Linked DNA regions of Homo sapiens: regions 1 and 2 are each linked to region 3. Evidence: promoter capture Hi-C in 16 types of primary human blood cells and fetal thymus (Javierre and others, 2016). All regions are on one chromosome and are shown on one strand. The core of a region is centred on a gene start or on the middle of the fragment in contact, and the rest is flanking DNA. Distances in the headings are between cores, read along the strand shown.

Region 1 (2,841 bases), core at 205-2,704, 170 kb before region 3:
GTCAGCCATCACACTCGGCCCTATTTGCTAATATTTTATTTAGAATGAGAATCTGTATTCCCAAGGGAGATTTGTCTATGAGGCATTAGCATTAAGGTGCGCTGGCTTTGTAACAGATATTGAGGAGCTCTCTTTTTTTTTTTTTTCTATCTTCTTGAGTGGTTTCATAACAGTGGGGTTATCTGTTCCTCACAGGCTAAATAGAACTCAGTTGTGAAGCCATCTGTGTCTGGGGCCCTTTCAAATAGTAAATCTTTAAAGACATTTCCAATTTCTTCTATAGGAATGATCTATTCCCATTTTTTCTCCTCTTTGTGCCATTTTGATGATTTATATGGTTTATAGATCTTTAATTTCATCTACATTTTCCAATCTGTTGCCATAGTTTTATGTAGCATTGTCTTGTAATTATTATACTCTGTTCTCTTTTTTGATTGTGATGTTTTTCTTGTTCCTAATATAAATGGAATGTTCTTTTAATTAAAATTATAATTTGTAATTGCATAAAATCATCTGAAGCTTTACATGACTAAATTAAGTCTTAACCTAGCTTTATAATTATGAAATAGAAGATTGTAATCAAAACCGCATGAAATTGGAATAATAAAAGTAGACAACAATCATCAGAGCAGAATAAAAAACATACAAACAGATTTTGGTAAATACAGGAATCGCGTATGTGAAAAAGATAGCATTTTAATTCAGTAGAAAGTGGATAGTTTATTTTAATAAATGGTATTAGGAAAATGACTATTTACCTTAAGGAAAATACAATTGAACCCCTACCTCACATGATATTAAAAAATAAATTCTAGGTGTATGACTGAAAAAAATAAAAAACAAAAATGTAATTAAAAGAAATGTAAGAAACTGTGTATATAACCCAGAGTTTGGAGACAACTACTAACAAAGATAAAATACCCAGAAGCGAAGAGAGAACAAAAAAAGTACAAATTCATAAACATTAAAAATATTAGATGGTATAAGAAACTACTCATGAAGTTCGTAGATAAGCAATAGATTGGGTAAGAGATTGCAAAGCATCAGATAAATGTGTATTCATAATATATACAAAGCTCATAAACTTTTGACAGGAAGTATATTGCAGCATATAATTCATTCAATAGAAAAATGTGTAAAGATAAGAAATAGGAAGTTAGTGCAACACAAACCCAAATAGTAAAATGTTTGTTATAATTATTGTTTCATTTGTTCCTTCACGCTCCATTTCTAGGATTAATCTTCTGTGAGAGCTGGAATCTTTGTTTTATTCATTGCTGAATCCAAATTGCTAAACCAATGTCTGGCACAGAGTGTGGGCTTAATAAATATTTATTAGACAAAACATGAAATATTATTGGAAGAAGCAATCTTTTAAATTCTTTTAAAGGGCAATCTTTTAAATTCTGTTAAAATAAAAAAGCACACATACCTTTTGATTTTCAGTCCCACTCTGGACTATCTCAGGTTAATAAAACATCATTATATAGACACATGTGAGAGATGAAAATGTTTGTTGTAGTAATAGTTGGAAAAACAATCCCCTCCCCCGAAAAAAAATCCCAAACAGAAAACAACAATGTAACTGCCCAGCAATTGAAGACTTGTTGAATAAATCTACACTCTATAAATCTCTCATACAACTACTAAAAAAAATGTGCTGGATCTTCACCAGTGAGGTCAAGAGGAATTTCGGTACCATGTTGTTACACGAGAAAAGTAAGACCCAAAGAGGTGCATGAGGGAATCCCATATTTGCAAACACCAAATGAAAAGAAACCTCTATTCAGGCGTGTAGATATGTTTGCATATTACACAGAAAGAGGCTGGGGAGGATGAACACCAAGTTGTTTACTGTGGTTATTGTTAGAGGAAGGGAGAGTACAAAACAGAGGTGTGGTGTAAGGCAAAACAAAACAAAAAAAAAACCAGCGGACTTAAAAAACGGTGTGTGTGCTAATGCAAAGCAGGTCCCACCAAAGTATTTTCTAAATGGATTTTGGATTATAAGACTTCATGTGACTTTGACTTTCTTTCTTTTAATTGTATATATTTCTTAAATTCTTTAATACTAAGCATATATTATTGATACAAGCAGAAAAATAAAAGGAGGATTTGAGTGATTTGCCCAGCAACAGAGGAGCATAAGGCCTGGAGCCAGGGCCAGCCTGCAGTTCTTGACAATGACCGTTAAGTGGCCAGCCAGGGCTGCCTGAACCTCAGGCCTTTCGTGGCCTCTCTCAGCCTCCCTGACTCAACGAAGGGCCAGTGGTCAGCAGCTCCTAGTATATTCCCCAGACTTGGACTCATACTTCCGCATCTGCCCAGGTGACCAGCCCTCTTGTCTTTCTTAGTCTGGCCAGCCATATTGCCATTGACTTTAAGCTTCCTGGCAAACACCTGTGTCCACTGAGACAACATAATTGAACATTGGTTGTTCAATTTATTGAACAAAGAACCGGACAGAAAGTAAAATTCCTAAGATTAAATGACCCACTACTTACACTTCTGTCCTTTGACTCCTTAGCAGTGTGTGTGCAGATGATTTTCCATGGGTCTCATGAGTACCTCAGGTCTCTATGGGTCCCCCTACTCCAGTGGCTTTGACTGGAGACCTGGGTTCCTCAAGAGGCCATGGGACAACCAGGGCTGTCACTGGTGCTCGGGCTGCACCCAGCAGTTTCAGGTTGGGTGAAGCCAGGAAGTGCAGAAGTCCAGACAGAGGCAAAACGCATCACACACTGGCTGGGGCTCCAGATGGCTTTGCTGCATTGTGGGAAGGGTGTGAGTCTGTGTATGTTTGTGAGAGAGTGGGAGAGGAAGCATACACACTTATGTGCA
Region 2 (3,081 bases), core at 89-2,588, 230 kb before region 3:
AGAACACCTGGGGCCAGAGACAGGCTATTGGGAAGGACTGGGGCTATCACACGAGTGAATTCTAAAATTGCGTGTGTGTGCGTGTGTCTATGTGTATGTACACATGTAAATCAGTATTTTTTAGTGCAAAGGATAAAGTGAACTGAGAATATCATAAACACAGGCTCTTTAGGGCTCCTTCAGCGAACAGATAGTCTCATTTGTAACAAACACGTGTTGTTGATTCGCCAAATGATACAATGCTGAAAAATAATGTGCTTTTCTCCAAAAATCCTCCAACTGTTCCCTCATTCCTACTTCTATACATAGGTACATTTCTTAGCAAATGCCGTGTCCTGGAATTCAAAAATCAGGCTAGAACGGTTACAGCCAAGAGGAGCCTCAGGAGGCATGATGATGACATATACTCCAGGGTCATGGAAGAAAAAAAAGGGCATTAGGTGACAACTAAGTATCTGAAAAAATATGGACTTTAGTTTGTAGTAACGTATCAATAATAGTATTGGTGCATTAATTTGACAAGTTTAACATACTAATGTAAGATGTTAACAATGATGGAAACTGCGTGGAGGAATGTGGGAACTCTCTGTACTATCTTTGCAGCTTTTCCATAAATCTAAATCTATGCTAAAATAGAAAGTTTATTAAAAACAATCCGGCTGGCCATTGGGGGCTCCCGCATGTAATCCCAGCATTTTGGGAGGCCAAGGCCGGTAGATTGCTTGAGCCCAGGAATTTGAGACCAACTGGGTAACATGGAACCTTGTCTCTACAAAAAAATACAAAAATTAGCTGAGTGTGGTGGTGTGCACCTGTAGTCCCAGCTACTCAGGAGGCCGAGGAGGGAGGATCGCATGAGCCCACGAGTCCAAGGCTGTGGTGAGCCCTGACCACACCACTGTGTTCCGGCCTGGATGACAGAGTGAGACCCTATCTCAAAACAAACAAACAAACAAACAAAAAACAATTGTGCCTGGCCTGGTTTGATGGACTCCTGTGCCAAATAAGGGTTACAGGTGGGAGGTGGGTGAGTTGAATGAAAAATCAGAAGGCTTGTGATGGCTTCATCTGAAGTCATCTCTGGGAGTGCTTTGCCATAAACATTCTTCTTTCCCTGTTGTCTCAGCTGACCCTTATGCCAACTGCCTGAGATATTATTATCCCATTTACAGATGGAGAAACCAAGTTTGGAGAGTGCTGTCGTTTGAATGTGTCCCCTCCAAAATTCATGCTGAAAGTTAATCCCCACGGTGGCAGTATAAAGGGGTGAGGGCCTCAGGAGGTGATGAGGCTGTGAGGGCTCCTCCCTTATGAATGATTCATGCCTCATCAAGGGGCAGTCCGGGGCCAGCTGAGGCCTTTCCCCCTCCCGCCAGGTGAGAAGGTGCCAGGTGAGCATGCGCCAGGTAAGCTCGCAGCAGGAAGGCGCCACCATGGAAGCAGAGAGCAGCCCTCTCTAGACACCAGTGTCGGCCCCTTCATCTCAGACTTCCGGCCTCCAGAACTGTGAGGAATCCATTTCTCTTCTTTATAAATTACCCAATCTATGGTATTTTGTTACAGCAGCACAAGCAGAGGGAGCAGTTCTGAGCCTCCCACCACCCATTCCACCCACGCAGCTGTGCCTTTTCACAGGCAGTCTCTGCACCCACGGCTCACTTTGCTCTGTGATCCTTCCCCCCTCTCTGCCTGACTGGTGGGCCAAACCTTAATATGCCTTCGAAATTTGCTCCTATTTCACCTCCTCTGAGGAGAATTCCTTGACAGTCCCTCCTAATTCACCAGGCCACACTCTGTATGTCTTCTGAGGCCTGTGCAAATGAATTCTCTCCTCCAGCTTTTCAGATCCTGTATTCAAGCACGCCCTCCTCCAGGGTTTCCTCTTTGAATCCACACTATCCAGCCTAATGCCTAGAGGACAGTGGCTGGGAGATTTGCATTTCTTGAATTGAATTGAAGCTGGCATGAAACCTGCATTAATCAGCTCAGGCTGCCATGACAAAGTCCCACAGACCAGGTGGCTTCAACACCAGCCGTTCATCTTCTCACTGTTCTGGAGGCTAGAAGTCCAAGCTCAAGGTGCCGGCAGGGTTGGTTTCTCCTGAGGCCTCTCCCCTGGGTTTGTGGATGGCCACATTCTTGCTGTGTCCTCACATGGTCATCCCTCTGTGTTTCTGTGGCCTAATCTCCTTTTCTTTTATTATTATTATTTTTGAGACAGAGTCTTGCCGTGTCACCCAGGCTGGAGTGTAGTGGCTTGATCTCAGCTCACTGCGACCTCCAACTCCCAGGTTCAAGCGATTATCCTACCTCAGCCTCCCGAGTAGGTACCACCATGCACAGCTAATTTTTGTATTTTTAGTAGAGATGGGGTTTTACCATGTTGGCCAGGCTGGTCTCGAACACCTGACCTCAGGTGACCTGCCTGCCTTGGCCTTCCAAAATGCTGGAATTGCAGGCTTGAGCCATGAAACCCAGACCCTAATCTCCTTTTTTTTTTTTTTTTTTTTTTTTTTTAAGACAGAGTCTTGCTCTGTCACCCACGCATGCAGTGGAGAGATGTTGGCTCACTGCAACCTCCACCTACCAGGTTCAGGCGATTCTCCTGCCTCAGCCTTCGAGTAGCTGGGATTACAGGCATGCACCACCACATCCAGCTAATTTTTGTGTTTTTAGTAGAGACAGGGTTTCACCATGTTGGCCAGGCTTGTCTTGAACTCCTGACCTCATGTGACCCACCCACCTCGGCCTCCCAAAGTGCTAGGATTACAGGCATGAGCCACCACACCCAGCCAATCTCCTTTCCTTATGAGGACACCAGCCATATTGAATTTGGGCCCACCCACATGACCTCATTTTACTTTACCCCCAAAGACCAAGTACAGTCACATTCTGAGGTCAGGGGCTTAGGGCTTCAGCATGTGAATTTTGAGGGACACAATTCATTCCTTAACAGAGCCCAGGCAGATCATGCTGACTGTAAAGCTCAGGTCAGGCTATAAGGAGGGGTTGGGGGTAGAGAATGTCCCCAAGCCTCCACCATTTAAAAGATGCAGGTGAAATGCAGGCAGCTTCCTGGGC
Region 3 (3,024 bases), core at 3-2,502:
TGGAAGCAATTCACTGATTTAGAGGCAGTTATCATCCGGTTATGTGAGATCTAGGATTTATTCACTCACGGCTCTTGTATTAGAATGTTAAGATTCTCCAGCAAAAAATGAAGTTTATATTCTTCAAACCTTTTAGAAAAATAAAACTTTCAACTGATCCTGTTGCCTCAGCCTCCCAAAAGTGCTGGGATTACAAGTATGAGTCATTGCACCCAGCCACAAAAATAAAACTTTTCAACAAATGTAAACCATACTGAGGTCCATGAATATGTGCCAAGAGGAAGGTGTTGATGGTCGAGAATTTCATCACAAATTAATCCAACTCGTTCCGAAGATAAATTTGACCACATAAAATGAAGAGGCAAGTAGGTGTTTACGCCCTGTGACCCAGTAATTGTACTTCTAGGTTTCAGCAATTAAATAGAATGACATCATTATGATACTCCATTCAACGAGTTATGCAGCTATCTTTAAATGGCAAATGTTAAAACTACATGTAAGTTCTTTGTAACGCATAGAGGACTGGAGAATATTTTAAAACAGCTACCATGTGACATGGCAAAAATTGAAAGTGAGTCTTTTCCAAAACTTTTGACAATATTGTCTTAGCACTACTTTTATAGTAAAAGAAAAGAAAAAGGTTTCACCTTCCACTCCTAGATTGTATAAGCACAGGAGAAAATAAAAGGTATACACTAGTTTTTTTGTGTGTTGTTGTTTGAGATGGTCTCGCTCTGTGGCTCAGGCTGGAGTATGGTGGCGCAAGCATAGCTCATTGCAGCCTCAAACTCCTGGCTACAAGTGATCCCTCAGCTTCAGCCACGTGAGTAGCAGCTACAGGTGTGCATCACCACATCTGGCTTAAATTATTTTTGTAGAGATGAGAGTCTTGCTATGTTGTCCAGGCTGGTCTTGAACTCCTGGCTTTAAGCAATCCTCCTGCCTCAGCCTCCTAAAGTACTGATTACAGGTGTGAGCCACTGCACTGGGTCCCACACTACACTGCTAACATGTTATTGATTGGGTTTGGAGGGGAAGACAACTTTATTATATATCTTTTAAATTGTCTGAACTCTTAATAAACATTTTTTTAAAATGACAGAATTTAAAGCATTTTCTGAACACCCTTACCATAAAATACAATCACAAATTGGTGATTTGGCCTATGTGAATTAAAAAATACTAAATATCTCCCACCTACCATAGTAAGTGTCCAAAGCACTGCAGTAGCTTTCACTAATCCAGTCTGTTCTGGACTCCAGGCCATCTATCTTGCTGGCAGACTTCGGGATCGCTGTTTGTGTAGCAACACAAGGCACATCCCAGCAACGCCACACACAAACATGTGAGCAGAAAACTAATAACCACCGGTAGCCTGTGTAAAACATCAGAACAAAGCCAATCTTTGTATTCTTTCTTTTTTATTTATAAATAAACTATTTTTGTGGTTAAACCCACTTTTCCTTCAAATAGCTTTTTGGGTTATTTCCAAATTAATCATAAAAAACCCTTTCTCCCAACAGAACGGAAAGCATTTTACAGGAAAACATTGATGGGCTCCGGGATCCCAAGATGTGCACCAGATACTGAGTGTTCAGACAGAAGGGACAACTCTAATTCTAGTCTTGGAGTACAAAGATGTCAGTGAATAAGAATCATCCAAAGAAGCTGAAGCATTCATTATTTTTTCACTCTTATTTGAGATCTCCTGGAGGTGTGTTTACAGATTGGGAAAGATTCAAGGAACCTGTTTGGAACAAACCCCTCCAAATGATCCGAATTAAAGGTCATTCTAGGAGCCTGGTAGAAATGCTGGAAGGTTAGGGTCTAGGAGACAAAGGTCACTCGAGTTGCTGCTTCTTATCTTATGAAAGGGAAGAATTGCTTGTTCCTTTAAGATAACTGAGAATAAATTAATCAAACTTAAGAACTGTTTTTTAAACTATAAACAGTAAGCAATCATTTTAAAACTCAATTATCTACCCAAATGTTCACAGCAGCATTATTCATAATAGCTTAAAAAGTGCAAAAAACCTAAATGTCCCTCAATGGATGAATGGATAGAGAAAATAAGAGGATTACTCATACAATGGAATATTACTTAGCAATAAAAAATGAAGTAGTGATACATGCTAAAACATGGATGAACCTTGAAAATGGACTGCTTAATTAAAGAAGCCACTAAAAGACAACCACATTCCACTTACATAAAATGCTCAGAACAGACAAACCCAGGGACAGAAGAAGTACATTAGTGGTTGCCGAGGGTGGGAAGGGCTTATATAATATGATTTCTTTGTGGGGTGATGAAATGGCCTAAAATTAGATTATAGTGATGGTTGCAAAACTTTTTAATACATTGAAAACCACAGAACTATAAATGAGTGAATTTTATGGTATGTAAACTATATCTCAAACTTTCAAAAAAAGAATTCATTACTAACTTTCTGATTTTAAAAAATAAAATCTTCCTGCCTCTCAAGAGCAGCCCAAAAGAAAAATAACAAAAAAATAAAATCTACAAACATAAACCTTATTAAGTGGAGGAAAAAGCTACAGTAATGTAACTGTTAAACAATTCAATTACCTAAAAGTTCTCCAGTTAATAGTCAAATAGATTTTAAATCCAGTTATGCCTTCAAAAAAATCCACGCTTTGACCTAACAGTTCAAAACTCCAAATGCATAACATTTTGTTATTAAGCATGCAACATAAATAAACGCCTTTTAATCCTTGATAGCTGTTATCAAATATATCCATGATTAATCTGTGGAACTGGAAGTTTCACTTCCTAGTGATTTTACATGCAGTACATTCCGAGGTCGCTGGAAAAAAGTTAACCTGTACGTGTCTATACAGTATTGCACCAGAAATATTTTTTTAAATGACCGGATTGAAAGCATTTTCTGAACACACTCATTCCCTTACCATAAAATACAATCAGAAATTGATTTGGCCTAACTTCAACTTAAAAAGTTAACCTGTATGTATCTATACGGTAATTGCATCAGAGGGTTTAGAGTA

The links. Contacts are between HindIII fragments. The CHiCAGO score rates a contact against its expected background, and 5 or more counts as called.
Region 1: a contact is called between a fragment that was not itself captured here and the fragment with the promoter of FAM167A-AS1 in region 3, in 1 of 17 cell types (M2 macrophages). The highest score is 5.6, in M2 macrophages.
Region 2: a fragment that was not itself captured here is called in contact with the fragment with the promoter of FAM167A-AS1 in region 3 in 1 of 17 cell types (naive B cells); the score reaches 5.5 in naive B cells.

Annotation. Positions count from the first base shown.
Region 1 is chr8:11,538,163-11,541,003 of GRCh38, reverse strand. All of the region lies in intron 1 of BLK (BLK proto-oncogene, Src family tyrosine kinase), which reads right to left. Among named protein-coding and RNA genes, the nearest start is that of BLK-AS1, 19 kb to the left of the region's middle. RefSeq lists an enhancer at 1,914-1,993 and a silencer at 2,676-2,840. The HindIII fragment of the contact is 1,866 bases long and covers 522-2,387 here.
Region 2 is chr8:11,597,980-11,601,060 of GRCh38, reverse strand. No RefSeq gene overlaps it. Among named protein-coding and RNA genes, the nearest start is that of LINC00208, 23 kb to the right of the region's middle. RefSeq lists an enhancer at 787-1,623. The HindIII fragment of the contact is 6,914 bases long and covers 1-3,081 here.
Region 3 is chr8:11,366,630-11,369,653 of GRCh38, reverse strand. FAM167A-AS1 (FAM167A antisense RNA 1) reads right to left here and starts at 1,252. Exons shown (of 7, transcript NR_026814.1): 1 at 1,202-1,252. It also overlaps the pseudogene TDH. The HindIII fragment of the contact is 6,691 bases long and covers 1-3,024 here.